Linked DNA regions of Homo sapiens: region 2 is linked to region 1. The links are contacts of gene promoters, found by promoter capture Hi-C in human tissues and cell types (Jung and others, 2019). All regions are on one chromosome and are shown on one strand. Each heading gives the region's core, a stretch centred on a gene start or on the middle of the fragment in contact. The rest is flanking DNA. Distances are from core to core; before and after follow the strand shown. Region 1 holds the start of CASD1 (CAS1 domain sialic acid O acetyltransferase 1). Region 2 has its middle 20 kb from the start of PPP1R9A.

Region 1 (5,860 bases), core at 3,204-5,703:
GTCAAAGAAAGAAAAGGCTAAGAGACCCAGAGCTGCTGCTTTCTTGCTCTAATTTCTGAAGCTTTCAACTTATTTTTCTCCAGAACATCCAATATCATTTAGCACTGGCATTTAATATGCTTAGTGAAAAAAAAAAGAATTTGATTTCAACAAAATTAAGGCATTTGAAGTTAACTTTATCAATTTAAAAAATTAAAATTTATCCAGATTGGAACTATCCTTAAGGCTACAGATATTGGCCATTTGTCACAGAAATGACACCTATAATCAAACTAATAATGGACATTTTGAGATTCATAATGTTAGAAATTGATAACATTTGGAAAAAATATAGTTAAAATGGTAATTATTTTCAAAATGTCATTCTATTATGTGAAAATAATATTAATAATTTTAAAATGCCTACTTTCTAAAATTGAGATTAGAACATGAAATTCAATTAAAGCCACAAAAGAACATAAAAGGAAATAAGGACTTTGAAATCTATTTATCCACAGTTATTTAAGGATTTCCTATTGTGTGTTAGGCTCTGATGATTTAAAGGTTTAAAGATGAGTAAGATACTCTTGGAAGCTCAACAGTTTGTGTGGGTAGGCAGATACCAATTATTACAATACAACACAATAAGTATGTGTAAGTTGCTGGCAGAACTGAACTGCTAATTCCTACTGCTGTGGGTGTGACATTTGAACCAGGCCTTGAAGGAAAAACCTATATTTTCTTTCAAGAGAGAAGTCACTGCAGGCAGAGAAAATCAAATAACTGTGAGACGTATAAACGGGCAAAGCACGTTTAGATTGTGAACCTGGAATTTGGGGAAAATAAGGAAAAAACATAGGTAACAAAAAGTAGGCTCAGGTCAGATTTTGAAGCTTTACACAAACAACTTTTAGAAAATTACCTCCTGACTGGAAAAAAAAATAGAAAAACTCTTAGCTGGTACAATAAAGTTGATTTTTTTTTTTTTTTTTTTTGGGATGCGATCTTGGCTCACTGCAACCTCTGCCTCCTGGGTTCAAGTGATTCTCCCTGCCTCAGCCTCCTGAGCAGCTGGGATTCAGGTGCCCGCCACCACGCCCAGCTAATTGAAGAAGAAGAGGTTTCACCATGTTGGCCACGCTGGTCTTGAACTCCTGACCTCAGGTGATCCACCCGCCTCAGCCTCCCAAAGTGCTGGGATTATAGGCGTGAGCCACTGCGCCCGGCCTGAATTACTGTTTCTAAGTTGTTTAACCCATGCTTCCCTGGAAAATGCTTTCTCCCTCTATCTTCTATACTCCCCACTGTCTAAGAAGTTCTGAGAAAGACAGACTGTAACATAAGGCATGAGACAGACTAACTGGGATCTAAATCCTAGCTCAGTCACTGTGTATCCTTAGGCAATTTAATCTGTCATGCTTCATATTTAAAATGGAAATAATACTGTAATTCACTGAATCTAAGACCACTGATTATTAGACACATGATTATTTTATGTCACAGTAAGAAAAAAATGTTACCAATTAAACTTTGACATGCAATCAAAGTTTTAAAGACTCACCCTGATTACAAAGATGTTAAAAATAGTGGAGAGGAGTGAAATATGGTAATTGTATCTACCTCATAGAATGGTTATAAAGACAAAATGAGTTAAAACATGTAAAACCTTTAGTAGAACAGTCCCTGACATATAAGTGCTCAACGTTAGCACACAGTATTCGCCAAGCTTTACTTTCTGTAGTGGGTAATTCTTTCCTTTACTTTCGGTAGTTTGTAAAGCAAGAGATACTGAATATGTATATCCAAACTGCATTCACTCTACCTTGCCTCAGCACACTCATACTCACACATTCAAAATCCAAATACACAGCCTAATCTCCTTCATCTAATGTAAGATCCTTTCTTATTCTAAAGCAAGATTTTCCAAGCCATGGCCTGGGCTGCTGGAGGCCCAGGATGGCTTTGAATGCAGCCCAAATTCGTAAACCTTCTTTAAATGATACGAGATTTTTTGCAATTTTTTTTAAGCTCATCAGCTATCATGAGTGTTAATATTATGTGTGGCCCAAAGACAGTTCTTCTTCTTCCAATGGGGCCCACGGAAGCCAAAAGATTGGCCACCTCTGTCCTAAAGAGTTATAATGTGAGTCAAATGTATGATTATCTTTGTGTGAAGGGCATTGCACCTGACTCAGTTTGATACTGCCAAAGCATGAGGATATTCCTGGTAAGATGTTTATTTTTCCCAGTCTTCAGCTCAAATTCTTGACATTCAGTCTGGGCAAGTACACTCACCAGGTGTATGCTTCACACTCAAGGCACTGAAGTACCTATGGAAACTGATGACTTACTTCTGGAGAAGGCTTTATAAACAATCCCAGATTGCTACACTGACTCATAAGTCCCCATCTGACATTCTATTCTCCCTGCTGATGACAGATCTTGATAAGATGAAATCTATAATCTAAAAATAATAGTAGTCCAAGGTTATCAAAAGATAAAAAGCACAAAAAAATAAAAGGAAGGGGACTAGATGTTTATTTATCTTAGGACAATAGTACTGTAGTTATAAAATTTCTCTCTACTACCATTACATAAATTGAATTAAATTACTGTTCTTTTATACCAAATTGGCATAAAATGATTAATAGTAGTTAAAAGAAATATTTCCTCAAAACCACCACAAATCAATGCATCAACATTGCTAGTTTTACATGATTGTAGATAAACCAAGGCCTTGCAAGGTCGTATGGCTGTGATCTGGAGAGAGCTGGAGAGAGGCCAAAAGGTTATAAAGAATCTAATTTTTAAAATCAATTTAGTATACTAAAAGCTGTTCACCCAGTATGGCTCTAGAGTACAATATTTTTAATTCTCAAGAGTTGGAAGAAATAAAGCAGCAAAACTGACCAAAATTGAAAGATCTCCTGGGATGAGAATACAGCGCAGACTCCAACAACCCGTTTATGGATATTTTGCCAAAGTAGGTGTAAATTTAAACGGGCACAGCGCTAATTTGCACCTGTCCATTACACATTACATCTTGACTGATTAATCTCACAGTCACCAAGAGCTGGCCAGATAATGGCTTTGATAGTATTAAGAGCCAAAAATAAAAGATCCTATCATTATTAATTTCCCTCTGCCTGTCAGCCTCTCTCCCAGTGACATTTTTACAAAGGAAAAAAAACAATCAATCAGCAAGGAGAAGTAAATATCCCTTGATTACTGAAAGATAATTCATTCTCAAATCAGGTCATATTTCCTTTTCCCCTTTACACCAATTTCAAAACCCATGGCCAAGGCCTGCTTTCAAAGTGCTTACAACTTGCTTTCAACTGCCCACCTTTACGCCTGTCAACCCACAACTTCCTTCCAAAAATCTGCTCTGGTGCCTTAACTTTGTAAAAAGTGTGCACTCCGAAGCCTTTAAACGTTTCTGCATCACAAAAGCTGGGTGGCACCTCTTCCATTTGGCCACAGGCATCTTTTGCCAGCTGTCGCCCTTTTGGCAAAGGAAAATGGGGGCGGCCCTTGCCGCTGTCCAACAGCCCAGACTGGGTGTTACAGGGCAGAGGCAAAATTAAACAAAGGCTAAGGAGCCGGACCCTTAAGAGGCAGGACCTGCGACCCCACTGCTGGCAGCGGTGCCCCTTGCAGGGCGGCCTTGGGCTTCATGCGCCCCGGGCTGCCCCCAAGGACCGCCTGTCCGACTTCCTGCACGCGAGCCCCTGATCTGGAGCGTCTCCCCGAACCCAGACCGCTCAGGAGCCGGACCTCAGCAGCACTTTTGGCCAGGTCCAGGGTTGGCGCCCCCGACCCCAGCGCGGGCGGCTCGGGGCGCCCAGAACCACCAGCCATTGTCCTTTGGTGGCCCCCACTGGGGTCCACTCAGTTGGCCTCGGGCGCCGGCCGCTGCTGGGGACACCTGGGGGAACCGCCTCCCCCGCGGGCCGGGCCGGCGGAAGGCCGCGTGGGCGTGTGTTGGGCGATGGGGGCGGCCTCCAGCCGCCGCGTCGCCGCCTCCCCCACGGCCTGCCCGGGCAGAGGGGAGGGCCCGCTCACCTCGGTAGCGGCGGGAGGCGAGGTGGCACGCTGCGAGCAGCAGCACGGCCACCAGCGCCAGCACCTTGGCGCTCCTCACGCTGAAGTAGTGGTTGATCTCCCGCTTGCCCAGGTTGTAGGCCAGAGCCGCCATCTTGGTTCCTCCATGACAACAGTGCGCGGCGGAGCGGGAAAGGGGCGCCGCACAGGGGCAGCACTGGGGCTGCCGCCGCTGCAGCCAGGCGAGGAGCGGCCGCCAGCTCCCCAGGCCGCCACCTGCGCCTCCCGCCGGGGAACCTGACCCCGCGGCCGCGGCGCCCCCGACCTCCGCCTGCCCCTCCTCGGCCGCGGCCGACTCGGCGGCCTCCCCCCAGCCCCGCCGCCGCTGCTCCGCCGTGCCGGTTCCCCAGGCGCCCTGGACGCCTGTCTCCTCCCCTTCCTCCTCCTCTTTAGCCTCCTGCCTTAATAGCGGCTGCGCCTGCGAGGGGGGTCCGGATGCCCAGTGCTCCGGGGTCACCGGGTCACGCGCCCCGGCGGGCGGCGGCGGCTGCGGCAGAGCCATGGGGGTGTGGGGAGAGAGTACTAGGGGTACCCGCCTGGCCCGGACGCGAGCCTTAGGGCTGTCTCCTAGTTTACTGGCCGCTACCTGAGCCCAGGTTGGGGCAATAGAACTACAGTTCCGGGAGAAAAGTACACATCGTCCCATTCCTTCCTTCCCCAACACTCCCCTTTCTCAGCCTTCTACTGCCAGAACCCGCCCAGCGGGATGCGAAGGACACCCTAAGGTCGTTTATTGTCTGGCTATCCGTGGCCTGGCTGGTCAGTCTGGCTGCCCCTGGGTGCTGGCCAGATTGGATTGATGGATCCAGTTGATGGTGCTGGCCGATGGATTGCTGGCATCCAACCCAGGAGTGAAACCAGTCTTAACACTTAACTCACCGCTCTGGCCAGTTTCTCTTAAACCGTTTTTTTAATGTCCTCAGTTTGCCCAGTTCTGGTGGGCGAAAGTACACCAAAGTTCCGAATGGAAGGTACAGAAGGAGCCTAACTTAGTGTAGGTGTTGATGAGAAAAGAGTCTGACTCTCACTTGTATTTACGCAAGTTTGGCTAGGTCGATGTGCCAAAAAAATTCGTTTTTTTTGAGAGGGAGTCTCACCCTGTCGCCCAAGCTCTAGTGCAGTGGCGTGATCTTCGCTCACTGCAGCCTCCCCCTCCTGGGTTCAAATGGTTGTCCTGCCTGAGCCTGCCGAGTAGCAGAGATTGCAGGCGCCCGCCACCACACCCGTTTAATTTTTGTATTTTAATAGAGACGGGGGTTTCACCATTTTGGTCAGGCTGGTCTCGAACTCCTGACCTCAAATGATCTGCCCATCTCGGCCTCCCAAAGTGCTGGGATTACAGGCATGAGCCACCAAGCCTAGCCAAAAAAAATTTTTCTTAATGTGCTTATGACAATCATCCCCGCTACTAACGTTGGTTAATGTTTTGTGATTCTCAATAAAGCCAGCACTCCATTTCCTTAATAAAGCATTGTTATCCCTACTCTCCTCTCGCTCCCACCCCACCTTTTTTAAATGGTTTTTCTTGTTGCCTTCCAGATGGGAATGGTTATTTACATTGCTTGCCATTCTACTTGCCTTGCCTTGTTTAGAGTGAGTCATTGTTTAGTTGGGGTGTTGTCAAGTATTCTTTACAACTTTCCCATTTAGCCATTCCTGAACTTGTGCTTATAGGCCCCTCTTAAAATTATAGAATATTAGATATGAAGGGACTGTAGAGATCTTGTCTACTCATTCCCATTCTCTTCATCCAAGGACTCTTTATTATGTTTTCATC
Region 2 (5,655 bases), core at 2,580-5,079, 380 kb before region 1:
ATTTGAAAAGCACTACCCCAGTAAGTGATAATTAGTAAGATCATAACTCGACAGCCAATTCCCAGAATGCTGCTTGGTTCTGTTTATAACCTCAACTTCCAGAATTGGTTGAAGCAAAACAGCAGGATGCCTAGCAATTTCTTTCACATTAGGGAAAAGGATTTGGTTTACTTTCAAGGCATACCATACCCAGGTCTCACTGAAATCTGGTCAATGTTATTTGTAAGAAAGTTATATTTGTTTTATTATATGCATGTGCCTAAGGATACACTAACAGAGTTTTAACACAACTTAAGTTGCATAACTAAATTGACAATGCAGATCAGAATCTGGAGAGATGGGTTAGGAAGAAGGCTTATTAGTCTACATTTTTAAGGAGGCTCACAGTTGATGCTAACAGCATTTGTGAGACTATGGTGAGCATGCCATAAAAGTAGAATTGCCTAAGTGCTTGGTAGCCATCTAATTGTTTATCTGGTGTCTTTTGAGGCTGAAGGGGATCAGGATATGCCACACCAAAATTTGCCACTTTGGTATAAGAATTATTTTGAATTGAAGGCAACTGAAAATCAACAGATGCAGGAGGACTTCTCTGCTCTTCCCTTATCTGCCTAAAAGCAGCACATAGATTTTCTCTTGTGCTGTTTCCCTTTCCTGTACCAGGAAGAGGAGAGTAGCTCATCACTGGAGATGGAGAATTAACACTAAGATGAGTTTGCATCAACAGACTTTACTAAAATAATCTTATTCTCCATCAGTTCTCCCATATATTTCCTAATCACTTCCCCATGATTTATTATTGGGTTTTAAAGCCCAACTCCCTTTCCCTTTGTCATAATGGTATGCAAGTCCCTGAGTTTAACTGTTTCTTTTAGTTCTTTTTTATGAACTCTCATGCAGGTAAATATTATAAAATAAGTGTGTCTTTACTCCTGTTAACCTGTCTTTTGTTAGTTTAGTTCATAGGCCCTGAGTCACTGATCTAAGAGGGTGGCAAAAAACATTTTCCCCTCCTTGACAGTTTTGGCAATGAGGATGGGCTGGTTGGGCTTGAAGTCTTTGCTTGCTCCTGAGGCTCTGGCTGAGATCTCAGGACGTCCAACAAAGCTGGCAAGATAAGAATAATTACCAATGCAGCCACCTGGATTCCTACTTAGAGTCTAGTTAAGTGAGGCCTGTAAGGACCTCTTCCTAAGTTTAGCTTAACAGGAAAAAAATGTTCGTAAGAACTAGTTCTTTGGATATTGCAACTCTTGGGATTTTGATTTGAGTCATTTTGTTATTGATCTTTTCCTTCCCTGGGATGGTCACTGTTTTATCTTAATCTCTGTGTTTTGTGTCATTTCTCCATAAGGAGGAGAATCATAGAACACAAGAATAAGTCTTACAAGCCTATTGTTCAAGTCGGCCTCACAGACTGGTGAATTTATAGTTCTCACCAACCCAGCATTCACGTTGACAAACTTTGTCGTGGGTCACTGATTAAAAAATACCGGATAATGTTCTCCTTCCTTGTTTTGTGTTCTGAGAGCTTGGCTTGGATCCAGAGAGTGTTCTCTCTCTGGTGTTCTGCCTGCAGGGGGAGGAGAGTAGCAGGCACAGGTTCTTGGGCCTTTGTCTAGCAATGACTAGCTATCAGGATAGGGCACCCAAGACACAAGGTGCACAAGCAACCGTTTCTGTCTGACTATGCCAGCTCTCAGAGGAATTAGTCTAAATAATTTTGTTTTTTCCCTCCTGCAGTTTGCATTCAAAGAATTAGTCTAAATAAAGGGCCCTAGTCCATAAGGAGCCCTTGTCTCTTCCCACATTGCCTTGTCAGTACTGGGGAAGTCCCATCTCTGTATTGCCTGCCTGGTGTCAGTCTCATGGATTAGCTGGGCTGTGATTGGCAGCATCTCACTATTTGGGAGACTGGAGACATGACTTTTCACAAACACCATTCTTCACTGCCTGTGGCAATGAAGTCCTTTGCTTTAGTTCTTTTTAGCTATCTTTGGGAAAGCCTTTGGATCATGAGAGCTATATCTTCTGCATTCTCTTTGGGAATCCCTCTTGTGACCATGGTTAAGTCATAAAAAGGCTTATTGGTTTTGAGTCACATTAAGAATAGATACGCCTTTGGAGGTATCTATTTTTAAAGAACTTTAAATCCTTTTAAAAGGATTTAGCTCTCACCCTAAACAAATGTCCTATTTGTACCTATGGGAGGATCAAATTGAAAGAGGATGCAAAAAAGCACCGTGGCTAGCCTAAAAGACTTTCTTAACAAGATTAAAGAGCAGAAATCAGATTTAAAAGTTTTTATTATTTTTATTTATTTATTTATTTGACGAAGTCTTGCTCTGTTGCCCAGGCTGGAGTGCAGTGGCTTGATCTTGGCTCACTGTGACCTCTGGCACCTGGGTTTAAGCGATTCTCCTGCCTCAGCCTCCGAAGTAGCTGGGATTACAGGCTCGTGCCACCACGCCCAGCTAATTTTTGTATATTTAGTAGAGATGGGGTTTCAGCATCTTGGCCAGGCTGGTCTTGAACTCCTGACCTTGTGATCCACCCACCTCAGCCTCCCAAAGTGCTGGGATTACAGGCGTGAGCCACTGCACCCGGCCTGAAAGTTAAATTCCACACCCACTGTAAATTCCTCCTCTCACCTCCCTCCTATACTTCCCTTTACTCCAACTCCCTTTCCCCGACCCTATAGAAGATTTTTTTGAATCTCTGGATCTCTGCCTCAAATTCTCCTCTCCATGATCTGGCCCTACCTCCACAAAAATTACTTTAATTCCTGAAACTCCTCTGATTTTCCCAGAAAATCCCTCAATCACTCAACTGTCCACTTTAACTTCTCTTTCTTCGCAAGAATTGCAAAAAGTACTCTAGCCTGACCTACAGGTGTAGACATACACATTACTATGTAAATGACAATAACCACAGATAGTTCTGGCAGAGGCTCTGTGAATGCTCAGCAAGACTTATTTTACTTTCCCTTATAATCCCACCTTCTTCCTAGGACTCCGTAATCAGATCCCATCAGCTCCAGGTCTTCCCATGCAATATGCATTGTGAATGTATCCTGGATTCCCACCATGAAGAATTCGTTTACCCTGGACAGTAGCAGGTCTTTTAAATTTTATATCCCTCTTACCTCCACTTTCTGAAAATTCTATCAAATTTAGAAAGTATGTAGAAAGAATCGTGGCTGTCCATAGCTTGACTCATAGGGCCCACAACAGGTTTCCAAGAGGTTTTCTTCCCACTCATGATTATATTGTAGTTATTCAACAAGCCAGGCGGCCCTCTGGGGAAAATCCTCTTCAACAGGGAAACAGATGGCTAGTACCCCTCCTTGGACCCCCATGAATGACCAGGAATTGACACAGTTGGAGACTGACATTCAAAGCTTAATAAGCGTGATTGTGAGGATTTCTCCCTCTAAGGTTGAATTCTTCACTTAGAAAGAAGGTGAACATCAAGCTGAGTGTGGTGGTTCATGCCTGTAATCCCAGCACATTGGGATGCTGAGGCAGGAGGATTACTTGATCCCAGGAGTTTGAGACCAGCCTAGGCAACATAGTGACCCTGTCTCTACAAAAAAAATAAAAAATCTTCCAGGAGTAGTGGTACATACCTGTACCACTCACCTCCTACATACCTGTAGTCCCAGCTACTTGTGTGCCTGAGGTGAGAGGATTGCGTGAGCCCAGGAGGTCAAGATTGCAGTGAACAGTGATTTTGCCATTGCACTCCATCCAGGGCAACAGAGTGAGACCCTGTCTCAAAAAAAGAAGAGGAGAAGGAAGAAGAATAAGAATAAGAAGGAAGAGGAGGAAGAGAGGGAGGGGGAGGGGGAGATGAAGAATAGAAGAAAAGAAGAAGAAGAAGAGGAGGAGGAGGAGAAGAAGGTGAACAACCTAAAGACTTCATTCAACAATTTACAAAAACATTCTTTTTTTTTTTTTTTTTCTTGAGACGGTCTCACTTTCTTACCCAGGCTAGAATACTGTAACATGAACATGGCTCCCTGAAGCCTCAACCTCCTGGGCTCAAGTGATCTTCCCACTTCATCCCTCCAAATAACTGGGACTACAGGAGTGCACCACCATGCCTGGCTATTTTTGTATTTTTTTTTGTAGATATAGCGTGTCACTATGTTGCCCAGGCTGGACTTGACACCTGAGCTCAAGCGATCTACCTGCCTCAGCCTCCCAAAGTGCTGGGATTATAGGTGTGAGCCACCGCACCCAGCCAATTTATAAAAACATTCTGTTACAGTAGGTAGCTAGTCAGGCATGAGCAGGGTGAGAGAGGGCTCTGCCTGACCAGGAATGTCAGGCAACCATCAGGTGATGGTTAGGCAGTTGTTAACTGACTCTACAATAATGACTGGCCCGTAGCCAGCGCCAGGGAAAGGCAGCCTCCCTATAGTCAGAAAAAATCTGAAACTAGTGATCAGCAGCTTCCCAATAAGATCTCAGGAATTGGGCAAGTGGGCTCACACATGCACATTAAGAGGCAAAATGGTGGAGTTTAACTGGTATATGACCTTCTAGGAGCATTTGCTGGTAAGGGAAGAATGCCCCAAGTGAGCATGCATACGACTCCAGTAAACACACTGTACATGCTCCCCTCCCAAGTGCTGGCAGGCCACCCACTGCACATGTGGACAGCTTACCCCCAAAGGAAGAATCAGGGGAGAAGGGATGCAAGACCCCAGGAGTATGCCAGTGTACAAAACCCCAAGTCAAAAGGTCAAGCTATGCACTTGATCTCTCAAGTCACCCCCTTGGCCCTCTTACAATTGTACTTTACATCCTTTCATTCCTGCTTTAAGCTTTTCAATAAACTTTCACTCCTTTTCTAAAACTTGCCTCAGTCTCTCTTCCTGACTTACGTCCCTCAGTCAAATTCTTTCTTCTGGGGAGGCAAGAATTGAGGTTGCTGCAGACCCCATATGGATACAAATTCTCCACTGGCGCAATTCTAAAGGTACATTGCAGTAAATCCACAGGTTCCAGAACATAGGAATTGCTTAATTTCTGCCTTAGTTTGCAATCTTCTCTCAAAAGACAAAAGCAAAATACAGATGCTCCTCAACTTACAATGGGGTTACGTCTCAAATTCACTATAAGTGGAAAATATCCTAAGTCAAAAATGCATTTAATATACCTAACACTATCATCATATGAACATCAAAGCCTAGCCTCGCCTACCTTAATCACGTTCAGAACACTTATATAAGCCTACAGTTGGGCAAAATCATCTGTCAACAAAGTACCTTATATTGACCTAAAAGGAAGAAGCTGGCCGGCACGGTGGCTTACACCTGTAATCCTAGCACTTTGGGAGGCTGAGGCGGCTGGATCACCTGAGGTCAGGAGTTCAAGACCAGCCTGACCAACATGGTGAAACACCATCTCTACCGAAAATACAAAAAATTAGCCAGGCATGGTGGCAGGCACCTGTAATCCCAACTACTCGGGAGGCTGAGGCAGGAGAATCACTTGAACCCAGGGGGCGGAGATTGCAGTGAACTGAGATGGTGCCATTGCACTCCAGCCTGGGCAACAAGAGCAAAACTCCATCTCAAAAAAATAAAATAAAAGGAAGAAGCTGAGGCAAAATTAATATAAGTAGAGTTTATTTGGCCAGCCTTGA

What was found. The method cuts DNA at HindIII sites, captures the fragments that hold promoters and counts their contacts. A contact is called where the count stands out against the background at its distance.
Region 2: a fragment that was not itself captured here is called in contact with the fragment with the promoter of CASD1 in region 1 in 2 of the 25 tissues and cell types used here (H1 embryonic stem cells and mesenchymal stem cells).

Annotation. Positions count from the first base shown.
Region 1 is chr7:94,508,402-94,514,261 of GRCh38, reverse strand. CASD1 (CAS1 domain sialic acid O acetyltransferase 1) reads right to left here and starts at 4,453. Exons shown (of 18, transcript NM_022900.5): 1 at 4,045-4,453. The coding sequence starts at 4,177. RefSeq lists silencers at 3,790-4,149, 4,250-4,399, 4,440-4,659 and enhancers at 3,193-4,179, 4,180-5,168. The HindIII fragment of the contact is 12,724 bases long and covers 1,290-5,860 here.
Region 2 is chr7:94,884,656-94,890,310 of GRCh38, reverse strand. No RefSeq gene overlaps it. Among named protein-coding and RNA genes, the nearest start is that of PPP1R9A, 20 kb to the left of the region's middle. The HindIII fragment of the contact is 4,674 bases long and covers 1,493-5,655 here.